Regions from separate parts of the Homo sapiens genome. Here all the other regions are linked to region 1. Evidence: promoter capture Hi-C in 16 types of primary human blood cells and fetal thymus (Javierre and others, 2016). All regions are on one chromosome and are shown on one strand. Each heading gives the region's core, a stretch centred on a gene start or on the middle of the fragment in contact. The rest is flanking DNA. Distances are from core to core; before and after follow the strand shown.

What was found. Contacts are between HindIII fragments. The CHiCAGO score rates a contact against its expected background, and 5 or more counts as called.
Region 2: a contact is called between the fragment with the promoter of CFAP45 here and the fragment with the promoter of OR10J1 in region 1, in 2 of 17 cell types (M1 macrophages and M0 macrophages). The highest score is 5.5, in M1 macrophages.
Region 3: a contact is called between a fragment that was not itself captured here and the fragment with the promoter of OR10J1 in region 1, in 4 of 17 cell types (M2 macrophages, M1 macrophages, endothelial precursors and 1 more). The highest score is 11.0, in M2 macrophages.
Region 4: a contact is called between a fragment that was not itself captured here and the fragment with the promoter of OR10J1 in region 1, in 4 of 17 cell types (endothelial precursors, M2 macrophages, neutrophils and 1 more). The highest score is 6.3, in endothelial precursors.
Region 5: the fragment with the promoter of CRP here is called in contact with the fragment with the promoter of OR10J1 in region 1 in 5 of 17 cell types (M2 macrophages, endothelial precursors, M1 macrophages and 2 more); the score reaches 6.5 in M2 macrophages.
Region 6: a contact is called between a fragment that was not itself captured here and the fragment with the promoter of OR10J1 in region 1, in 1 of 17 cell types (M2 macrophages). The highest score is 6.0, in M2 macrophages.

Annotation. Positions count from the first base shown.
Region 1 is chr1:159,437,649-159,441,664 of GRCh38, forward strand. OR10J1 (olfactory receptor family 10 subfamily J member 1) reads left to right here and starts at 2,074. Exons shown (of 1, transcript NM_012351.3): 1 at 2,074-3,319. The coding sequence starts at 2,144. The coding sequence ends at 3,073. The HindIII fragment of the contact is 2,085 bases long and covers 1,137-3,221 here.
Region 2 is chr1:159,898,242-159,902,257 of GRCh38, forward strand. It overlaps CFAP45 (cilia and flagella associated protein 45), which reads right to left and starts at 1,924. Exons shown (of 12, transcript NM_012337.3): 1 at 1,855-1,924. The coding sequence starts at 1,857. It overlaps MIR4259 (microRNA 4259), which reads right to left and starts at 1,838; the gene lies at 1,738-1,838. It overlaps LOC124904435 (a long non-coding RNA gene), which reads left to right and starts at 2,009. Exons shown (of 3, transcript XR_007066679.1): 1 at 2,009-2,572. The HindIII fragment of the contact is 6,665 bases long and covers 1-4,016 here.
Region 3 is chr1:159,768,025-159,772,040 of GRCh38, forward strand. No RefSeq gene overlaps it. Among named protein-coding and RNA genes, the nearest start is that of DUSP23, 11 kb to the right of the region's middle. RefSeq lists enhancers at 1-558, 559-1,512. The HindIII fragment of the contact is 5,272 bases long and covers 1-4,016 here.
Region 4 is chr1:159,739,232-159,743,247 of GRCh38, forward strand. No RefSeq gene overlaps it. Among named protein-coding and RNA genes, the nearest start is that of CRP, 27 kb to the left of the region's middle. The HindIII fragment of the contact is 3,809 bases long and covers 369-4,016 here.
Region 5 is chr1:159,712,262-159,716,277 of GRCh38, forward strand. CRP (C-reactive protein) reads right to left here and starts at 2,328. Exons shown (of 2, transcript NM_000567.3): 1 at 2,164-2,328; 2 at 28-1,877. The coding sequence starts at 2,224. The coding sequence ends at 1,264. The HindIII fragment of the contact is 4,063 bases long and covers 1-3,228 here.
Region 6 is chr1:159,694,943-159,698,958 of GRCh38, forward strand. No RefSeq gene overlaps it. Among named protein-coding and RNA genes, the nearest start is that of CRP, 18 kb to the right of the region's middle. The HindIII fragment of the contact is 1,708 bases long and covers 867-2,574 here.

The DNA of each region.
Region 1 (4,016 bases), core at 824-3,323:
AATGAGCCCTATACATAATGAGACCTCCAGGTACCTGATACCTGCATCCTCCCAGCCCCAGGGGGGTGGCTGTCAGAATGTCTTCAGGGAGTGACCCCCAGAAGCCCAGCTGCCTGATCCTGGGAGAGCATCTCCTCTGGCTTCAAAGACTTTTCCACACAGAGGGGTTATCAAGAATGCCTATGACTCTCAAACCTGACTATATTCCTACTAGTGTGTGTTTATGCCCTGCCTGCTCAGCCTCAGGTCCTGCCGTAGGCACTCTTGGTCACCTTGCTCACCTTGGTCACCCTATGCCTATCCATTGTGGCCAAGGGAGCCTGACATTTCAATCTTTACTCCTCGGCCTCCTCCAGCCCAGCTTTCCCGTTGTGCCTCAGTGCTAAGCAGAGTCATGTGAGTGGTCTTTAGAAGAAGGACTGAAATGGGGCTCATTACATATGAGCTGACTTTAATTTATTGTAGTATTTCAGGTCCTATCACAGCTGGACAGGTCTTCATAAGCTATATTTGCTCTTCCTTCCATTTCCTTTGAAGAATTATAGACTTCCAAGAGTGGGGAGGATGCTAACCAAATCATAATAGCCATTCTTCTACCTCAAGACAGACAAGTTTCAGCCAGATAAGATGATATTTTAGCCGTGTGTTTCTCAATGGGAACTTTATTGGTATTTGGAAGAAGGGAATTCTTCCTTGGGCAGAATCACCACAAGTTTTGCAGGACATTTCACATCGTGAATGGCCAAGAGCTTCTGTGCTCATTATTGTAACAGTTAAAAGCTCTGCCAAGCATTTCTGATTTCACCATAGAGGCACCATACCACTCCGTGGCTGGACTACTACATAGTTTTTGCTCAGAAGCCTCACAGAAGACAAATGTCTTTAGACATATATTTTAGTATCAAATGATTTTCTTTATTGGAAAATATTCTCTATTGCAGCTTTACTTTCTTTTTAGCATTCTTAGTGTAAATGATTAACAGCTGGTCATCAACTTCTTTTAAATAGATTTTTATGAACTTGAAGAAAGTCTCCGTGCGTACTAACCTTCATCATTGATGTGATTTACTTTATGCAAAACTTCTCTTTCTGAATATGCATAAGCAAATCAGAATATAATTTAAATACCCTAGAGAAGCTTACTGTTTAAAGAGATAAAAATGTGAAATATTACATAAATTGAACTGATCCCCTTCCTTCAACAAAATGATGTATCTTTGGTGTAGCTGTTTTTTTATATTCAGGGTTTGCTTTTGCTTTAGGTGAGGGACACTTAAATTTGCTGTATCTTTCCTGATACAATTGTTTATCTCTGCAGAGTGGGTGTAGGCTTACTCACAAAGTTGTATTGGCTATAAATTTGCCTTCTAGTTTAGGGAAGGTAAAGATGTAGCATAGTTTATAACATACGTGAATCAGTGCTCTGAACTGTCAGCAGACTTCCATCACTCAGACAGAAGTGGGGAGAGGCTGGTGGTTGGCTAAGATTTTCCTTTTTCTTCTTGAAGACAAGATGAACCTTTCTACTTTGCTTCTAATTCTTAAAGGATGCGCAAGGAGGATGATTCATAGTCTTGAAAGAAAAGACATCACTAGTCCATCCCTAAACAAATTATTTTCAAGCACCCAATCCATGCATAATTTGGAGCTAGTGAAATATGAAAAGATGTAAAAGGTATTATAAAGTTGCTAAGTGTTTGTATGAGGTGAGGCAGCAATAATGGGGTAAAAATAATCCAAATAAACATGAGAACCTCTGAGTGTAATACGGTTTTATGAAGGCCTGAAAATGTGCACTCATCTCTGAAGAGTAGGAAAGAAATAAGAGGAGAAAAGAGAAGCCATTCCAGATGTCAGGGAGGAAGAGTAGATATGAAGTAGGAGCATGTATGGTTATACAGTGAAAAAGTGAGACTATATGATTCTATGATGCATGGAAAATTATAACAGATGGTCACAGAGTAAAAATATTTTAAGTAAAGATAAGTAAACCCAGGGATTAACTTAATCCACTAGGAAATACATCACCAGATTTGTAACTGAGAACTATTGAACTTCAATCAATTTCAGAAATGTGCTTCTACTGCTTTACTGGGACTATGTGACTTTTATGCTTTTATGTTTCAGATTTGGGAACCAATCCATGAAAAGAGAGAACTTTACTCTCATCACTGACTTTGTTTTCCAAGGTTTCTCTAGCTTCCATGAGCAGCAGATCACCCTTTTTGGCGTGTTCCTTGCACTATACATCTTAACCTTAGCAGGCAATATCATCATTGTGACCATCATCCGAATGGATCTTCATCTTCACACACCCATGTACTTCTTCCTGAGCATGCTGTCCACTTCAGAGACTGTATATACATTGGTCATTCTCCCAAGAATGCTCTCCAGCCTCGTAGGTATGAGCCAGCCCATATCATTGGCAGGGTGTGCCACACAGATGTTCTTTTTTGTAACCTTTGGCATCACTAACTGCTTCCTGCTCACAGCAATGGGATATGACCGCTATGTGGCCATCTGCAACCCCCTGAGATACATGGTTATTATGAACAAGAGGCTGCGTATCCAACTTGTCCTGGGGGCCTGCAGCATTGGGCTGATTGTAGCAATAACGCAAGTGACATCTGTATTCAGGTTACCCTTCTGTGCTAGAAAGGTGCCCCACTTCTTCTGTGACATCCGCCCTGTGATGAAGCTCTCCTGCATTGACACCACTGTCAATGAAATCCTGACTTTGATTATCAGTGTGCTGGTGCTTGTTGTACCTATGGGTCTGGTTTTCATTTCTTATGTTCTCATTATCTCTACAATCCTCAAGATTGCTTCAGTTGAGGGCCGGAAGAAGGCTTTTGCCACCTGTGCATCCCACCTCACTGTGGTCATTGTCCACTACAGCTGTGCCTCCATTGCCTACCTCAAGCCCAAGTCAGAGAACACCAGAGAACATGACCAGCTGATCTCGGTGACCTACACTGTCATCACTCCCCTACTGAACCCTGTGGTATACACCCTGAGAAATAAAGAGGTCAAAGATGCTCTGTGCAGGGCTGTTGGTGGGAAGTTTTCCTGACCATGTAGGAAGAGTTCTCCTGAGGCTGTCAACATCCACACTAGGCAGGAATATGAGGTGTAAACTCACAAACACTTGGCTCCTAGAGACCTGCCCCTTAAATAAGAGGCAAAAGAGGAATAGCAGTTTCATACAACTGGGAGTCTGAAGCTTTAAATAAAGTTACTGGATGGAGTGTTATCCCTATTTTTGGGGATAAATAGACAAACAAGGATAAGATATGCCTAAATAAAAGGCCAGAAAGTAGTATGGGCTGAGAATTTTTTACTGACCTTTTGGTTTCTTTGTGAATCTCCACCTAATGAAGGCAATAGAAAGCCCCTTGAGAAAATAGAATCCAAGACACACTTAAAATCTTTTTCCTATAATCCCTTTCTTCCTATACTAGAGCACCAGGGCTTCTGAAACTGGATTCCCTATTGGAGTATGTTTATGACATGTCAAGTAATAAGTTACTGTGTGGGGAGGGAAAGTGGCCTCAGGATTAGATAGCCCAGGAGAAATAGATGTTCTCTCCTGGATGTGTTAATTTATCCCAGATTCTAGCAAAACTGCTTATTAAAGATGGTGAGCATACACAGTTTAATTAGAGATGCTGGCAATTCTACAGTCATCATGACAGTGTTTTGAGGGCATAATCTGAGATACTCCTGGATCCTTTCAAATTTGGCTAAATCAGAAAACACATAATGGGCAAGAGCTATGAACTAGCCTCTGTGCTAGGTCCTGGAGAAATAAAGATTAAAAAAGCTTTCTTGTCTGGCTTCAGGAAGCTACAAGCCTAGTGGTAAAAACAAGCATTTGACAGTATGGTTTCAGTTCTTTATGGTAAGTGGTGTTTACACACAATTAAAGAAGAACTCAGAAAAAGAAAGAAAAGGAAAGGGGAAGAGAGAGAGACTGTTGGAGATGTTAGGGAAGTCTTAAGAGGAGGGGACCTGTG
Region 2 (4,016 bases), core at 674-3,173, 460 kb after region 1:
TTCTTCAATTGGGACCAAGTTGGCCATCTGTAGGATGCCACCAGAAGATAACATCCTAGTCAGTACTGAGGTCCCCATCTCTCCTTCTGCAGGATTTTAATCATTATTTTTGTAAGAGTTCTGGAAGTCTGCCTAATTGTGACCCTCACCACCACTACTATCTCTTCTCATGCCTTTAAATATTCTCCAAACCTAGTGAGTAGCACTATACGTACACGAACACACACAGCTGGCCTGCCAGAGATCACTAACTTAGACCCACTGCTTCTCAAAGGTGTCTATATGCCCAGTCCTGTCCCAGGAATTACAGAGGGGCTCAGTGAGTGAGTCAAACCCCTGCCCTGAGTGGCTCCTGGATGGGGAATCCCTGATCTGGGTGCTCTGAAGCCCACAGGTCTTGCCCAGGTGCAACTTATGCCCTATGAGAGCTTGGAAATAGGAAATTTTTAAAAGAGGACAAAAGGGGAACTAACATTTACCATATGCCCTTAGACACCAGGCATGACAGTAGGTGTTCACATACATACATACGCCACTGTGTTTGTAAGGTGCTGAGAGAAGATGGGACACTGAATCAAATAGAATACATAAGTGAAAGGGGACGCTCCCCCACCCCAATTACAACACTGCAGGGAGTCCTCGAAAGTCAGGAACTGCTCTTTGTTGGAGACTTATTTAATAATTAACAAAATTCTTCTGAGGTCCACTGAGCCCCAGAAAAGCAATGCAGCCCCTGGGCCTGAAGTCTGTCCACAAGTACATCCAAGTAGCAACCTTTGCCACCTGTTGTGCCCCAGACATTCTAGGTCAGTTCCAATAACCCAAGACTCCAACACTTATCATCTGCCCTTCCCCTCCCCTCTGGGACCAACACACTCAAGCCCAGGCATCCCCTTCATGGTTCCTCCCAGGCTTTGCTGGCCTTCTCAGCCCTCAGTACCCTGACAGCCCTCCCCATCCCAGCAAACCCCAGGCTGCCAGTCCTGTCCCAATCTCTCTCCCGGGCCTTGCAAACCTGAGACCCTCCTCACTCACTCACTCATTTATTCATTCATTCATTCACTGCCAAATATTTATTGACTAACTACTGAGGGATACAAAGCCCTGCTAACAGAAGAAAAACCTGAGGCTCGGGCACATTAGATGACTTACCCACAGTCACCTTGCTAGTTAGTGGCAAAACAGGTACCACGACCCATTATCTGGCCTCCTCACCAGTGCTTTTTTTTTTTTTTTTTTTTTTTGAGACGGAGTCTCGCTGTGTCGCCCAGGCTGGAGTGCAGTGGCGCGATCTCGGCTCACTGCAAGCTCCGCCTCCCGGGTTCACGCCATTCTCCTGCCTCAGCCTCCCGAGTAGCTGGGACTACAGGCGCCCGCCACCACGCCCGGCTAATTTTTTGTATTTTTAGTAGAGGCGGGGTTTCACTGTGTTAGCCAGGATGGTCTCGATCTCCTGACCTCATGATCCGCCCGCCTCTGCCTCCCAAAGTGCTGGGATTACAGGCGTAAGCCACCGCGCCCGGCCCACCAGTGCTTTTTCCCACACCACATCCACAATCTTTGGTCCACAGAGGCCCCGCTGTAATGGCAACGGGGAGAGGGTTGGGGCATCCCTTTCTCCCCAACTCCTCCGCTCAGCGCGCTCCACATTTCCAATCGTTATCGATGCTATCCCTAATTCCTCTTTTGAACCCACCTCAGGATCTCCCTTGCTTCTTCTAGAGGTGTTCTCCTTACTCCTGGGCCCTCCTGACCCCTAGACCCAACTGTGACCTCCCCTAGGCCCCCACTTTCCCCACTCAGAGCCCCCACCCAATTCAGGACACAAGGGGCCCATCTGAGGTTCTCCCTCACCATCTCCTCAGCCACACGCCCTGACTCCGGACTTCTGCTGCCGCCTCGGCGCCGCCAAGGCCCTAGTGTTGACGCGTTACCTTGGCAACCACTAGCCCGCGTTCTTCGGCTCAGGCCCCGCCCCCGGCCCCGCCCCTCCCACCTCCAGCGGGCAGTTGCCTTGTGCTGGTGGCTTAGGAACCGGAGCCCGTCGCTCCAACCGTTGCAGCTCCACGCTCCAGCCCAACCGCGGCTCTGAAGGATTGACCCGCCCTGGCGTGCCCTGCTCTCCACTTTGGCTTTGGCCAAACTTTTCGGTCAGAACCCGAACCTAAAGAACTTACTATGGGCCGAGGGGGTTCTAACTGTCAGCGGCCCCAGGAGCCTGGCCCAGGGTCACAGTTTTCCCCTGGGACTTCACCTAGGTTGCTATGATTACTCTTGCCCCATTGCCCAGGAGGCGCCAAGCCAACCCCTGATGAGTGTAGTCTGCAGAGAAGCCAGCAGGATCAGGACAAACCAGTTCCACAGCAGGAGAGAATCTGGTCGGGTCAACAAAGAACTTCCAGCCCTGAGGATGTCTATGCAGTCTCAAGAGCAGTTTCTTAAATTGCGGGCCTCAAATCTGCAGCTAAGAATCACCTGGGAGAGTTTATTAAAAATGGAGGCCCTACATTAGAATAAGTCAAAAGCTAAGGAACTGACTTTGGGGAGCTTGTCTTTTAACACTTCCTAGCTGGTATGTATTGTTCTAGAAAGTACATAGGGGTTTTGTCATTTTTTCCAATTTGGTTTGGCCTCTCTACCTCCCAACTTGCAGGGCTGGCACTGAGCTCACTTTGGTAGGCTGCATGCTCCAAGCCTCACGAAGCTGTCCCACCAGACCAAGGACATTTGTCTTCCTCCAGTGCTGATTAGCTGATTAGCTAAGCTCTTGGTGTGACTCTGTGAGTCTCTGAGCTGCTTTCTCAAACCTCTCTCCAAACCCTCACAGCCAGTCTTTCTGAAGCTCTTACTCCAACTTGGGCACTGAAGGCTATTCACAAGCCCCGGGGGAATGGAAAGAGGGAGACAAGGTCACTTCTTGCTGCTTTTAAAAGGACTTACTCCAACAGGCTTCACATTCCTTCCCTAGATTTCCCAGCCTTTATCTCCTTTGGGATCAAGAGTACAAAATTGTGTCCCCTGCCCAGTCCCACCAAGTGTTGAAGGCTTAATCAGAGGGAGAAGGGAAGGCCTGAAGAGGAGGAGCACAGTCCCTGGGAGGCTTGGGACTGAGAGAAGGGGCTGTTTTGTTCGTGGGAACCTTCCTTACTAAGCCTTGGCATTAGAACCCCGTTCCCTGCAGCTCAGAAAGAAGGGAAGACAAGTAACCGGCCCACTGTGAATAAGGTGCTTCCTGTATTCACCCCATTCTCCCAGGCACATCTGCATGACATAGTTACTATCCGTGTAACCAAAGAGGAAACAAGCCAAGAAAAAACTGTCCAAATTGAAAATCTATTCTTTTCTCAGCCCAGGGTAACTCTCTGAAGAAAAGGTGCAAAGTTGAGGCAGAAAGGGCTGGGCGCGGTGGCTCATGCCTGTAATCCCAGCACTTTGGGAGGCCAAGGTGGGCAGATCACGAGGTCAGGAGTTCGAGACCAGCCTGGCCGACATAGTGAAACCCCGTCTCTACTAAAAATACAAAAAATTAGCCGGGGGTGGTGGCAGGCACCTGTAATCCCAGCTACTCAGGAGGCTCAGGCAGGAGAATCACTTGAAGCCAGGAGGGGGAGATTGCAGTGAGCCAAGATCACTCCAGCCCAGGCAACAATGCAAGACTCTGTCTCAAAGAAAAATTAAAAAAGTTATGGCAGGAAGGAGGGAATGACAGAGTGCAGTGTAAGGGACTTGCCTCCCAGCAGGCAATTACATGCCTGTAATCCCAGTACTTTGGGAGCCCAAGGCAGGAGGATTGCTTACATCCAGGAGTTTGAGACCAGCCTGGGCAACATAGGGAGATCCCATCTCTACAAAAAATCAAAAATTAGCCAGGCATAGTGGTACATGCCAGTGGTCCCAGCTACTTGGGAGGCTGCACTAGGAGGGTCACTTGAGCCTCGGAGGTTGAGGCTGCTCTGAGCCATGATCGTGCCAATGCACCCAGCCTGGGTGACAAGAGTGAGACCCTGTCTTGAAAA
Region 3 (4,016 bases), core at 683-3,182, 330 kb after region 1:
GCAGCATGCTCCTTAAGAGTCATCACCACTCCCTAATCTCAAGTACCCAGGGACACAAACACTGCAGAAGGCCACAGGGACCTCTGCCTAGGAAAGCCAGGTATTGTCCAAGGTTTCTCCCCATGTGAAAGTCTGAAATATGGCCTCATGGGAAGGGAAAGACCTGACCATCCCCCAGCCCGACACCCGTAAAGGGTCTGTGCTGAGGAGGATTAGTATGAGAGGAAGGCATGCCTCTTGCAGTTGAGGCAAGAGGAAGGCATCTGTCTCCTGCCCGTCCCCGGGCAATGGAATGTCTCGGTATAAAACCCGATTGTACGTTCCATCTACTGAGATAGGAAAAAACCACCTTAGGGCTGGAGGTGGGACATGCAGGCAGCAATACTGCTTTGTAAAGCATTGAGATGTTTATGTGTATGCATATCTAAAAGCACAGCACTTAATCCTTTACCTTGTCTATGATACAAAGACCTTTGTTCACGTGTTTGTCTGCTGACCCTCTCCCCACTATTGTCTTGTGACCATGACACATCCCCCTCTCGGAGAAACACCCACAAATGATCAATAAATACTAAGGGAACTCAGAGGCTGGCGAGATCCTCCATATGCTGAACGCTGGTTCCCCGGGTCCCCTTATTTCTTTCTCTATACTTTGTCTCTGTGTCTTTTTCTTTTCCAAGTCTCTCATTCCACCTTACGAGAAACACCCACAGGTGTGGAGGGGCAACCCACCCCTTCACATAAGTATATTGCAGGACCTTCTACTCTAGGTATAGAAAACGGTTCTTGAATACAGCCTGGTTTACCTACTTCTACTCTCTGGAAGTGGTTGCCTCTGCTTTCTCCAAGATGACCCATGTTTTCAATAAAAATAGCCTGTGTGTGCAGCTGAGTGATTTTCTCATCTTACCTCCTGTTTCTATTTATTTTGAACTTCCTGTACATTAGTTAGTCTAAACTAATCCAATACCTTTCTATGTGGGCTTTCTATATGCCAGGTGATAGTCCACTTGACTAGACAAAAGCTATACCCACAACTATTTTTGAGATAGGCCTCTACTTTGGTTCAGTATGTCAATGTGCCGTGGAAAAAATGCCCTTAAAATTCTTAAAAGCCACTTTGCCTAGCTGAGAGAATCTAATAGTCACTATTTTAAATCATTCTGTGGTCTTAAGAAAGTCTTGTAGCCACACCCTTGATTTAATTTGTACCCTGAGAACATTTCTAACTTTGAGAATCTTTTGGCAGTAGGAGAGACTGGAAATGTGAGACAGTTTTATTTCTCACCTAGCGTATCCTGGGCACTCCATATTTGCTTTAAATTCTGCTTGCAAATGGAGCAATTCATTTTTTTTTTTTTTTGGTTCATCTCTCTCTTCCTATACCCTATTATCTATCACCTTTAAAAAGCTAATTGGCCCCTTCAGCATTCTAAATGGAAACTTCCTTAAGCCAAATCTACAAGTTAATTAAGTACATTTTTTATCTTCCAAGTTTCTGAAGATGACAGTGTTGCCAGTTATTCTACTACTATATAATGTGATTTGCCCTTTATCAGCCTCCAGTAGCAGTTTCCTCTCAGGTCCTCAGGCTCCACTAATAATCTACTCGCTGCACCTACTGCCTCTTCCAGCCACTCAACCCCAAAGCCAATGCCACATAGTTTAGCTTTTTGTTACAGCAACATACCATTTCTGGGTATAAATTTTTATATCTGGCCGGGCACGTTGGCTCACGACTGTAATCCCAGAACTTTGGGAGGCCGAGGCAGGCGGATCACCTGAGATCAGGAGTTCGAGACCAGCCTGGCCAACATGACAAAACCCTGTCTCTAATAAAAATACAAAAATTAGCCAGTCATGGTGGCAGACGCCTGTAATCCCAGCTACTCAGGAGGCTGAGGCAGGATAATCGGATAATCACTTGAATCTGGAGAGTGGAGGTTGCAGTGAGCTGGGATCGCGCCACTATCTCAGCCTGGGCCACAGCAAGACTCCATCTCAAAAAAAAAAAAAAAAAAAAAAAATATATATATATATATATATATATATATATATATATATATATATATATATATATATAAAATCAGTTTTCCATTCCTATGAAGTAAATGACCATATATATATATATATATACACACACACATATATAGAGAGAGATAGATATAGATATAGATATAGATCAGTTTTCCATTCCTATGAAGTAAATGACCCCAAAATTTAGTGGCTTAACAGCAATTTCTATTTCTCATGATTCTGTGAGTTAGCTGGGTCACTCTTCTACTGGTCATACCTAGGATCATTCATGCAGCTGCATCCAGCTTGGGGACTGGGCTCAACTGGCCTCTCCTACCATACGGTATATAATTCAGGGCTTCTTTATAGCATAAAGGTCTTAGGGTTCCAAGATGACAAGACCCAACATGCAAGTGCTTATCATACCTCTGCTTCTATCACATTTGTTTTATTTTATTTCATTTTATTTTATTTTATTTTATTTTATTTTATTTTATTTTATTTTATTTTATTTTTTGAGATGGAGTTTCACTCTTGTTGCCCAGGCTGGAGAGCAGTGGTACAGTCTTGGCTCACTGCAACCTCTGCCTCCCGGTTTCAAGCAATTCTCCTGCCTCAGCCTCCCAAGTAGCTGGGATTACAGGCATGTGCCATCACGCCCGGCTAATTTTGTATTTTTAGTAGAGATGGGGTTTCACCATGTTGGTCAGGCTAGTCTCAAACTCCTGATCTCAAGTGATCCACCTGCCTTGGCCTCCCAAAGTGCTGAAATTACAGGCATGAGCCACCGCGTCTGGCCCACATTTGTTTATATCACGTTAGCCAAAGCAAGTACAAGGCTGAGTCCAGTACAAATGTAGGAGAGGCATGTATAAGGGTGTGGATACTAGGAGGTGTAATCCATTCAGGTCATTGCTATAACAATCTGCTCCAAAACCAAAATGTAAGTTTCATGCTTTTATCTGCATCTTTAGTCAAGTATATAGCCCAATATTTTGTTCACTTGGACTTAATTGGCATGTTTGTTTAATTGAATTAAAGAGGTAGAAAGTTTTAGAAACACAAGGACCAGAAAGGCTGAAACTATTATAGTTTTGGAAAGCCAAAAGACTATAGAGCAAAGCTAACCATTAAAAAACATTTTCTCACCATTTTTCCATATTCTTGTGAATCAAATATGTTTTCTGACCAAAGGGATTTAGGGTATCATAATTTTCAAATAAATGACTGACTCATCAACCTTGTCTCTGTTATGGTCATAGCTATTCCAGAAATAAATTCCATGTGAATTTGCAAATTTTCTCATCCTAAATAACTGTTTGAACATCTGAATAATCACACAATGTAGATTCCTCCGTATTTGCACAAGAGAAAAAGAATTAAATAGAATTACTGGCATTTCAAACCCAGTATTTGAATTTTGCTAAGATTAGACGCTAGACTTGATTTGTCTTTCCCATCTGAGGATATAGGTATATTTAGTTTTTCACTAAAATAAAGAGAATCATGGCTGTGTTTTAATGGCCTCAAAGGTTCTTTTCCTAACAGTCATTTTCTCCAGAAGAGGTTGAGGTTTTTCATCAACAGTAGTGGATAATGATGAGCACATTTTGAAACTGACTAATGATTAATGATATCTTCCTTTCAAGGATTGATAGACCATAAAACTCTGCACTAAAGGACACATTCTTCCCTTGCTACCAATTTTGAGTCTAAGAATCCAGGTATGTTTGCACTATTTTTTCCCATGAAGCAGAATATCCCATCAAAGTGTAACAAGGGGATTCACTGAGAACTCAATTTGCATGTGGTGGTTTTTTTATTTTGTTCTGTTCTGTTTTGTCTATTTGCTTGCTTGTAATACAACTACCCCTCTGCCTAAGTTTCCAGTTCTAGCAAATGATGTTCCTACCCCAACGTAGGGGACAGGAGGGGTTCCTGAACCTATTTTTTGGGACCAGATGGGGCCAGTAATGCATTCTCTATTTGAAACTCCTGCT
Region 4 (4,016 bases), core at 1,023-3,522, 300 kb after region 1:
TAGGGGTATGGGGTGGGGACCTAACTCCCACGTTGTTCAAGGTCACCTGTAATTGGAAATGAATAAAACTAGTCAAAGTTTGATGAGGAAAAGATTTGCATAGTCTTAAGGTATCTTCCCACAAATTCCTTGTTAATTACAAAGCGGAAATGTGTAACTTTATAGTGGTGAAACCTAGCAGATACCACATTAGTTAAGTAAGTGATCAAATTTAGTATTGTCAATAACACAACCAGGCAGCTTAACTTCAAAATGCATTTTAAAAACTTTTTTTTTCAAGGTTGCAAGATGCAACCTTGAAGCTTACAGCAGAAACCTTGTTTTTCTTCTCCTTAGTCTTTTTTCAAGGTTGCAAGATGCAACCTTGAAGCTTTCAGCAGAAACCTTGTTTTTCTTCTCCTTAGTCTTAACACACAGCTTTGAACTGTACTTTCTTTAAAACACCAGGTTGCTCCCTTTCTCACCATACACTCTTACACCATGCACATTTATCTAACTGTATGCTTGTATCTAATTATATGCTTACTTAGAAGTTCCAGGGGCTAATCTTGAGACAGACAAAGCCTGGAAATCCAGCTGCAGAATTCCAGCGATTAACTCAAGGCAACTAGTCAACAACATGGCCATTGTTGAGATGATGCCAGCTCACGCTCCAGGTGGACTGAAATCCAACATAGCCATCGAAACAAGACACACAGACCTGAGCTCAGCACAACTCCTGCATGTCTCCCCTGTTAAGTCCCTTCTTTTTGAAACCTTGCCTTCTCCCCAGTAGTTCAAAGTGGTTGCTTTGGTTGGGAATCTGGCCACCTCCCCAGTACTAGTTTTGGTTAATAAAACCACTTTCCTTCTTCCAGACCTCACTCTTGTTAATTGGATTCTGCAAGCAGCAAGCATCCAGACATGCATTCATTTATAATAATGGGACAGATTCAAATTGTGTACCACTGACTAGATGTAATGAGGAGAAAAATGCAACTATTCTGTGATATTACTGCCAAAAAATAACTGACCTGATTCTAATCACAAGGGAGCACCCAACAAACTCCAAAAGAGGAACATTCTCCAAAGCAATTGGCCTGTAATCTGCAGAAGTGCCAATGTCATGAACATTAAGACAATTTGAAGAACTCTTTCAGAATAAAGGGGTCTAAAGAGACATGATAACTAAATGCAATGTGTGATCTATATTGGGTACTTTTGCTTTAAAAAGGACATATTTGGAAGAATTAGTGAATTTGCAGAGGGTCTGGGGATAAGATGGTACTAATATATTGGTGCTGATTTTTTTATTTTGATTGTTGTTATGTACTTGTAAAGGAAAATATCCTTGCTTGTAGAAATTATACATTAAAGTGTTTAACGGTGTCTTAGACACGCAGTGCCATGAGCAGTCTGGGTATCCATTCCTGTTGGAATGGAAATACCACAAACTAGGTAATTTATAAATAATAGAAATGTATTTATCTCAGCTCTAGAGGCTGGGAAGGAAGTACAAGATCAAGGTGGCAGAAGGTTTAGTATCTGGTGAGGGCCCAGTCTCTACCTCCAAGATGGTGCCCCAAACACGGTGTCCTCACATGGCAGCAGAAATGGAAGAGGGAACAGGCCTAGATAATTCTCTTGACCCCTTTTATAAGGTCAGTAATCTCATTCCTGAGGATGGAGCCCTTATGACTTAATCACCTCCTAAAAGCCCAACCCCTTAATACTATCACATGGCAGCTTAGATGCCAACATATGAATTTGGGGGGGACACATACATTCAAACCTTAGCACAGGTAATAGGGTATCACATTGGCAACTTATCCTTAAATGCTTCATAAAACAGAAAGTTCTTTGTATTATTCTTAGGGGAAAAAATAATTACCTTCAATGACTTCCATGTCACTCAGCCAAAGTCTTCTACAGTGGCCTTCAATTCCCTCCATGACTTTCCTCTATTGTCATCTTGTGCCCCATTTCTCTGGATTTTCCCCGTAATCTGCTCTAGTGACACAGATTTTCTTGCTTTTCCTCAAACCCATCAGGCACACTCCCACCTTAAGGCCTTTGCACTAGCTATTCCCCCTGCCTGGAATGTTCTTCCCCAAGAAATCTACCTGGTCAACTCCCTCATCTCCATCAAGTTTTACCCAAATGTCATTGTTTCAGTGGGGCCTACAAGGACCACCTTACTTTTTTTAATTTTACTTTAAGTTCTGGGATACTTGTGCAGAACCTGCAGGTTTGTTACATAGGTATACATGTGCCATGGTGGTTTGCTGCACCTGTCAACCCATCATCTAGGTTTTAAGCCCCACACGCATTAGGTATTTGTCCTAATGCTCTCCCTCCCCTTGCCCCCCACCCCCCGACAGGCCCCAGTGTGTGATATTCCCCTTGCTGTGTCCATGTGTTCTCATTGTTCTGAATGAGAACATGCAGTGTTTGGTTTTCTGTTCCTGTGTTAGTTTGATGAGAATGATGACTTCCAGCTTCATCCATGTCCCTGCAAAGGACATGAACTCATTCTTTTTTATGACTGTATAGTATTCCATGGTGTATATCAGTTACATTTTCTTTATCCAGTCTATCATTGATGAGCATTTGGGTTGGCTCCAAGCCTTTGCTATTGTAAATAGTGCTACAGTAAACATACATGTGCATGTGTCTTTATAGTAGAATGATTTATAATCCTTCAGGTATATACCCAGTAATGGGGTTGCTGGGTCAAATGGTATTTCTGGTTCTAGATCATTGAGGAATCGCCACACTGTCTTCCACAATGGTTGAACTAATTTACAGTCCCACCAATAGTGTAAAAGTGTTTCTATTTCTCCACATCCTCTCCAGCATCTGTTGTTTCCTGACTTTTTAATAATCGCCATTCTAACTGGCATGAGATGGTATCTCATTGTGGTTTTGATGTGCATTTCTCTAATGACCAGCAATGATGAGCTTTTATTCATATGTTTGTTGGTGGCATAAATGACTTCTTTTGAGAAGTGTCTGTTCATATCCTTCGCCCACTTTTTGATGGGGTTGTTTGTTTTTTTCTTGTAAATTTGTTTAAGTTCTTTGTAGATTCTGGATATTAGACCTTTGTCAGATGGGTAGCTTGCAAAAATTTTCTCCCATTCTGTAGGTTGCCTATTTACTCTGATGATAGTTTATTTTGTTGTGCAGAAGATCTTTAGTTTGATTAGATCCCATTTGTCAATTTTGGCTTTTGTTGCAATTGCTTTCGGTATTTTAGTCATGAAGTCTTTGCCCATCCCGATGTCCTGAATGGTATTACCTAGGTTTTCTTCTAGGATTTTTATGGTTTTGAGCTTTACATTTAAGTCTTTAATCCATCTTGAATTATTTTTTGTAAAAGGTATAAGGAAGAGATCCAATTTCAGTTTTCTGCATATGGCTAGCCAGTTTTCCCAGTACTATTTATTAAATAGGGAATCCTTTACCCATTGCTTGTTTTTGTCAGATTTGTCAAAGATCAGATAGTTGTAGATGTGTGGTGTTATTTCTGAGGTCTCTGTTCTCTTTCCCTTGGTCTATATCTCTGTTTTGGTGCCAGTACCATGCTGTTTTGGTTACTGTAGCCTTGTAGTATAATTTGAAGTCAGGTAGCATGATGCCTCCAGCTTTGTTCTTTTTGCATAGGACTGTCTTGGCTATATGGGCTCTTTTTTGGTTCCATATGAAATTTAAAGTAGTTTTTTTCTAATTCTGCGAAGAAAGTCACTGGTAGCCTGATGGGAATAGCATCGAATCTATAAATTACGTTGGGCAGTATGGCCATTTTCACAATATTGATTCTTCCTATCCATGAGCATGGGAAGTTTTTCCATTTGTTTGTGTCCTCTCTTATTTCCTTGAGCAGTGGTTTGTTGTTCTCCTTGAAGAGGTTCTTCACATCTGTTATAAGTTTTATTCCTAGATATTTTATTCTCTTTGTAGCAATTGTGAATGGTAGTTCACTCATGATTTGGCTCTCTGCTTGTCTATTGTTGGGGATCACCTTATTTTAAAAG
Region 5 (4,016 bases), core at 1,078-3,577, 270 kb after region 1:
AACTATCAGAAAACAGCTTGGACTCACTCAAGTAAACAGGGGCTTTATTGGCTTATAGACCTGGGCAGTCCAGGTGTAGATCTGGTTCCAGACAAGGCTGATTCAGAGACTCCACGTGGTCAAGGCTCTGTTGTTTGTCAATCCCTTGGCTCCTCCACTTCCAGTTTGGCTTCTGTCCTCACAGTCTCTCTCCATGTGGCAAACAAGATGGCTACTGGTGGTCCCAGGTTCACGTCCTCTCAGCTTGGAAATCCAGCAGCAAGAAGATGTCTCACTCCCAAAGTCCATAACTCAATCCTTGGGAAGACTGTAGTTGGTCCTGCTAGGAACACGTAACTATCCAACTATCCTCCAGATAGGGAGCTGGGGAGATGGGAGATGGGCTCCTCTGACAGGACACCCTGTGGTTCACGTCCACTCTTGTGGCCTGGGTATATTGGGAATGCGGGGATGAAGAAAGAATTCACAGCCCCACAAGGTTCGTGTGGAAAAGGGGAGGAGTTTCCCAGAAGAGCCATAAAATTAAGAAAGCACTGCAAGCAAACAAAAACCAGTCATTTAAGTTCTTGGCAGTAACAACATATTTATACCTAGTGCTTCATTTTGCTCTGGAAAAAAAGCAGATCTGCTCTGCTGGGGCAATTCTAATGGCCTTTCCAGTGTGCTTTGAGAAAGTGGAGGGACTGCGTGGTATTGCTGGGCTTCCCATTTCAGGAGACCTGGGCCCAGCAGTTCTATGACATGATGATGAGCACTCTGGACCCAAACCAGACACCTGGCCAGTGTCCTGATTCTGAGACTGAAGAGCCCTGTGAATGTGGGCAATGCCCTCCTGCTTTCTGGGGGTCATGGGTGGGGAATTAAATAGAAGATCAGCGCTTCCTTCTCAGCTCTTGCCTTATGAGTTTTTTATAACATCATTTCTCCTTTCTGGGTGTTAGTTTTCTCATCTATGTGAGGTAAGAAATTATCTCCAAGATCTGTCCAACTTGAAATAAAAATGAAAACAAAACACCTCAAATTCTGATTCTTTTGGACCGTTTCCCAGCATAGTTAACGAGCTCCCAGACCAGACACTTTACCTCCATTCTCAGGCGCTGAGGAGGGTGGAGCAGGCCTGCAATGCATATAGGGGAACAAAGGCCCAGAGACAGAGACGTGGGAACCATGCAGTGTAAAAAAGCGGGAGGTACCAGAGACAGAGACGTGGGGCCCATGCGGTGTAAAAAACCGGGAGGTACCTTCAGGACCCACAGCTGGGCCTCAGGGCCACAGCTGGGGTTTGGTGAACACTTCGCCTTGCACTTCATACTTCAGTGCCCGCCAGTTCAGGACATTAGGACTGAAGGGCCCGCCAAGATAGATGGTGTTAATCTCATCTGGTGACAGCACAAAGTCCCACATGTTCACATTTCCAATGTCTCCCACCAGGGACTGGCTTCCTTCAAAGTTCCCACCGAAGGAATCCTGCTCCTGCCCCAAGATGATGCTTGCTTCTGCCCCCACAGTGTATCCCTTCTTCAGACTCTTCCTCACCCTGGGCTTCCCATCTACCCAGAACTCCACGATCCCTGAGGCGGACTCCCAGCTTGTACAAATGTGTACTGGAGCTACTGTGACTTCAGGAACCTCGAATAATATTTCAGACCCACCCACTGTAAAACTGTATCCTATATCCTTAGACCAAAATATGAGAATCTCATTGTCTTGTCTCTTGGTGGCATACGAGAAAATACTGTACCCACGGGTCGAGGACAGTTCCGTGTAGAAGTGGAGGCACACAGTGAAGGCTTTGAGAGGCTTCGTTAACGGTGCTTTGAGGGATACATAGGAAGTATCCGACTCTTTGGGAAACACAAAAGCCTTCCTCGACATGTCTGTGAGCCAGAAAAACAAGCAAATGTGAGAGGTTTCTCAGATCACACAGATCTATCCCCTCACTTACGTATAGAATTTAAGATTGAGAAACAGACTGACCCCTTCTCCAGTTACACACCACACACACACACACACACACACACACACACACACACACCATGAAGGATGCTCCACTGTTCTGTTCATACAGTCTTTTTTTTTTTTTTTTGAGACTGTTCATGCAGTCTTAGACCCCACCCCCATACCTCAGATCAAATCTCTCCCATAGCCTGGGGTGGCCCTTACCTGTCTGGCCAAAAGCATGAGAGAGGCTGGTCAAGACCAAGAAACACAACAGCTTCTCCATGGTCACGTCCTGCTGCCAGTGATACAAGGGCCTGAATTCACTCCTTTGGAAAAGATGTATTCGGCTGAAAGTTCAGGGGCTAGAAGTCCTAGATCTCTTGCCTTAGAGCTACCTCCTCCTGCCTGGATTTATATCCAAAGCAGTAAGGGAGTTTGCGCCACTATGTAAATAATTTTCCAACATTGCTTGTTGGGGCAGGTGTCAGAGCTTCGGGAAGAGGGGAAGCAAAATTATTTCAGAACAGAGAAATCAATGTGAGTTATTTATTACAAACTCCTATGACTACTGAATTACCAATTCTTTATGACAGGAAAAATGAAGAAATCTCTCAGGGCTCCACTTTGGCTATCTATCCTGCGAAAATAATGGGAAATGGTAACATATTAAACGAGTGGCCATCTGGGTGCACGTGGTAGCTGCCTCTCCAACACCTACTTCAGCCCAAATCATAGAGTTTGACAAAGGAAATCTGACAGCTTCTGGAGATGGACATTATCACTAACCCCTTTCAATTTGCTTATTTACAGACTGGGAAATGAGGAAAACAAACATGCTCCTCCCAGAGCCATGGACACATTTTTTTATTATTATTATACTTTAAGTTTTAGGGTACATGTGCACAATGTGCAGGTTAGTTACATATGTATACATGTGCCATGCTGGTGTGCTGCACCCATTAACTCATCATTTAGCATTAGGTATATCTTCTAATGCTATCCCTCCCCCCTCCCCCCACCCCACAACAGTCCCCAGAGTGTGATGTTCCCCTTCCTGTGTCCAAGTATTCTCATTGTTCAATTCCCATCTATGAGTGAGAACACGCGGTGTTTGGTTTTTTGCATGGACACATTTTCTCAGCCAATTGAGTACACTTATTAAGAACTCTCTAGACATCTTGGCACTAAATGACGGCCCTGACAGTAAAAGTCCAGTAAAATGTGTGCCTGATCACAGACATAGCATTATATCAAAGTTTCTTCCAACATTTTTCTCTGAATATGTAAAGCTTCAGGCAGGAGTCAGGATAATCTGATTCTACTCTTTCCTCTATTCACAAGATTCAAGTAATCCCTCCACACTGTCTGTCAATCTTACTACAGTTCCCTACTTAACTCACTCTTCAAAATGACTATTATACTCCTTCTCCTTGCTCCTCAAGTCCCCAAAATCTCATTTATTCTTTCATTCAGCTGATGAACTCACCTTTCATTGAGAAGTTAGAAGCAATCAGAAAAGAACCACCGTATCCTTTGTAGTAGAGTCTTCTAGCCATTCCCTAACATCCATTCTCTACTTCTCATAAGAGAAGAATAACATTTTCAGTTGGGCGCTTGGTCATCCCCTCAAACACCAAATTTCCCAGCCCCCACTGTAGCTTGCAGTGATGATGTGATTAAATTAAGGCCAACGAGATATGAACAGAATAGGGACCATCTCTAGGTTGTGCTCTTTAAGAAAGGTATGTGCTTTCCCCTCCCACTTCCCCCTTTTTCCCTTTGACTAGTATTCAGTCATGATAGCAGGAGATGGAATAGTTCACTTTCAGGCCAGCAAGTGTAAGCTGCATGTTGAGGTTGGCATGGCAACAAGATAGATGGAGCCTGGATAATTGGGTATGGAGCCACTGCATCAGCTCTAGGCTGCCTACCTGAAAATTTACTTAAAGGAGAAATACTCTCCTCTTTTGTTAAATCACTGTTAACTCAGTCTTTCTGTTCTTAACACCTAACTGATATCCTTATATATCCTCCTACAACCCAATGTACCAGCCTTTCTGTCTTCCTCTATTAAA
Region 6 (4,016 bases), core at 471-2,970, 260 kb after region 1:
CACTTCTCAATTCTTCTAGGAGTCATTTTATTTTCAGAGGCCAGCCAAGAGCCTACTTAATTTAGTTCTTCTATTAATTTGGGCTAGACACAGTGGTTCATGCCTGTAATCCCAGTGCTTTGGGAGGCCAAGGCAGGAGGATCTCTTGAGCCCAGGAGTTCAAGGCTGCAATGAGTTGTGATCACAACACTGCACTCCAACCTGGATGACAGAGTGAGACTCTATCTCAAAAAGTGAAAAATGAAAACACTTAATTCTCCATATGAAATTATTTCCCACTTAAAATATTTAAAATAGTTTCTCCTTTCTACATTGAATACTAACTGACACAATTCAATCACTTTAAAATGTTTATAATAAAGTAATAATAGAGTTCCCCCCTCTGCCTATTTATTGTAACACAAACACAATCCTTTCCAATTTATTTTGTCTCTATACAGATCTACCTCTTATCTATCTATCTGCTTGTCTATCTATCAACTGTATGTCCGTACAAATAAAAATGCTCTTGTGTTGCAAAACTGAATTATGCTGCACATACTAATCTGCAATTTGCTTTTTTCCCTGAGCATTTTTCTTGAATGGTACATATAGATCTAGTCTATTATTTTTAAATAGCTGCACAATATTCCATAGTATAGTGATAGCACAATTTATTCAATCATATTCGAGGATTTCCCTGTTGATGAACACATGTGTTTTCCAAATATTTGCTATTAGAATGCTGTAATGAATATCTTTTTATGTATCACCTTAAGGACTCTGATCTTATTGCTGTAAGATAAATTTCTTTAAGTAGAATTAGTGGGCCAAAGAATATGAGCCTTTCAAAATTTTAATACATACTGTCAAATTAAATTCCAACAAGCTTCTACAAATTTACACTCTCAGCACAAATGCATGAAATGGCTTATTTCCCCATTAAACTAGTGATAACTGGATAGTAAAACCTTTTTTTGCCAATCTAATAACAAAAAAGTAATATACCATTGTTGTCTCTAAATTGCTTTTCTTAGATTACAAGTAAAATCAATGTTTACCGGGCATCTGCATTTTATTTGCGATGATTGTCCTTTCACATCTACACTTTGCCATTTCTTTTTTTCCATCTATTTGTAAGCACCTTAAGTATATTAAAGATATTAGCCCTTTGTCTGATACACACACATACACACATGTACACACACACGCACGGAGAGAAAGAGAGCAGAGGTAATATTCTTCTAGTTTGTCATTTGGTATTTGTTTCTGTTTATATTAACTTTGCCATCGCAAGGTTTTTAGGTAGCTATGGGTAATTGTGTTGCTTAGAAAAGTCTCCATGACTTTGAGATTTTACAAATATTTTCCTAAATGTTTTAATACTTTTGGTGTTTTGTTGTTTTATATATAAAGATTTAACCCATCAAATATTTAGTTTTGTAGATGGTTAAAAATTAAGATGTAACTTTATTTCAAGTGGATAGACAATAGTTCCAGCCCTAATTATTGTCTGAGCCATTCTTTCCTCCATTGAAATGGATTACTGTACTACATACGTACCTGAATCTGTCTCTGAATTCTTATTTGTTTCACTGATTTATTGTCAATTCCTGTTTTAATGCCATATTGATTTGATTCTAGTGGCTTTATAGATATTAAGTTCTGGTATCTATTAAAAAAATCCCTACTATTATTTTTCTTTTCAAAAATTTCCTGGCATTTATTACATATTTATTCTTCAAAATCAATTTCAGATTTATTTTCTTTGATTAATATAAGCTGGAAATTTTATTCAAATAATAGTAAATGTATGCATTAATTTAGGAATGATTGACATTCTTGGAATGATTGAGACTTTATAATATGAAGTCTCTCATCCAGGAGGATGTCATGTCCCTCCAATTTATTCATGTCTTGTCCTTCAATAACACTCCCTTTTCCTTCATATGGTTCTTGTGACCCTTCTATTAAGTTTTTCCTTGAGAGATTGACAGTTCTGTAGACTATGACAAGCTAGCCTGGGCTCAGGTCTCCTTCCCTTGAGCTGAACTCTAGAGAAACCACAAAAGTGAAAGGGATCCCAATACAAAAAAAAGTAGGGGGAAATACTTGGGAAGAACAGAGGTGACAGAACACCAATGTGATAGAAAAAAAGGTTAGGGCAAAAGGAAAACAGGTCCTACAACTGGGGAAGGGACTGGGAAACCACTTTCTAACTGAGTCTTTTATTGTCTTTCCCACATTGCCCTGAGAGGATTATTATTCATTCTATCAAAGTGGGTTGGTGAGAAAAACTGCATCCCAGCCCAGCACCAGCACCAGCCTGAGTTACATCAGGGAGACTCTAGCTGGGGTGAAATGCTTATAAGAAGAAGTTCACAGAGTCTGGCCAATTACTGAGCATCCTCTTCTCCTCCCTTCCTCTCTTGCCTCACCCATATAAGAATCGGTCGCAACAGAGGAGGACATTCTCTGGAAAACTGAAATTCTTGGGACAGAGGTGTTAGGTGGGTAGGGAGTCCCAAAGGACACGGCTATCTAGTGGCAGAAATGAAGTAAACAAAATAATTGAGAACTTATTACAACACTAGAAGCTTTCCACACTGAGATATACTCCGTTCCCACTCCCAAACTCGCCTAGAGGAGAACAAGCTGGAATAAAGTACATATGACCATCAAGGTACAGATGATCTTTCAAGGTAGTTGATAATTCTAAAGGAGTATGTGTTTGCACAGAAAAAAGCTAACATAGCAGGCCTGAGGCTGCTACCATTAGAAATGCCTACTGCAAGCCTAAACTTTCCCTTTTGCCATAAGAAAATGCAAGGGTGCTCTAAAAAAATAAAATAAAATAAAATATAAAATTAAAAAACCATAGAGTAGGTATCATACTTAATCTCAACTTATTGAAAGCATTCCTCTTCACATTAGGAACATGAAATGGATGTCTACAGTTACCATTTTCTTTTAAGTGAAGGTACTAGACAGTAGAATGAGACAAAAAATGATTTAGGATCCATAGCGATAAAAATAAATGAATGAATAAATGAGGAGAAAATAACACTTTTCACTTAAAAGTAGAAGGAATGATGGAAATGTAAAGTGACCATTTGATAAACTATCATAGTAATAATTAATCTATTCAAAAAACATAGATGGATGCTATAACTAGTGAGTGAAAGTATAATGGGAAATGATATATTTACCTAGTCTTAAAATATCACCTTACTACAAAATTATTAATTACAAGAAGTAAGTTTCAATGGAGAAAAACATAAAATCACTTTAATCTAATGATCAAGTAATGAGAAAAGTCAAACTTGTGTCTCCCTTGATAGAACGCAATGAGAAGAAAACAGCCCCAATTCTGTGATATTTCTGCCAAAAATTCATAACCTGAATCTAATCATTAGAAGACATCAGACAAACCTGAACCAAGGAATATTCTGGCTACAGCCTTCAGGTGTTAAAGTTTTGAGAATTAAAGAAAGACTGGAAAGGATGAGGAAATGCTCTAGAAATCAAAGGTGACTGAAGAAACATGACAACTAAATGCAGTGTATAATCCTGGTTTGTATCTTTTTGCTATAAAGGACATGATTGGATAATTGGTGAAAGTTGAATGGGATATGTAAATTAGATAACAGTGATATATCAGTGTTAATTTCCTGATTTTGATGGTTGTATTGGGGTCATGTAGGAGAAGGTCTTTGTTTGCTTGAATTACACACTAAAGTATTTGGGGATGATGGGGCATCATGTCAACAACTTACTCTTAAATGATTCATAGAAAATATTTTATATAAAGTTCCAAGACAGCCACAACTAATCTATGGAATTAGAAGTCAAAATAATGGTTACCTTTGGCTGGAGAAATTGTGACTGGGAAGGGGAGGAGGGGCTTATATGATGTCTTCTAATGATTAGATTCAAGTTATGAATTTTGGGCAGAAATATCACAGAATTAGGGCTGTATTCTTCTCATTACTAGAATTACTAGATCTGGGTAATGGCTCCACAGGTATGTTTGCCTT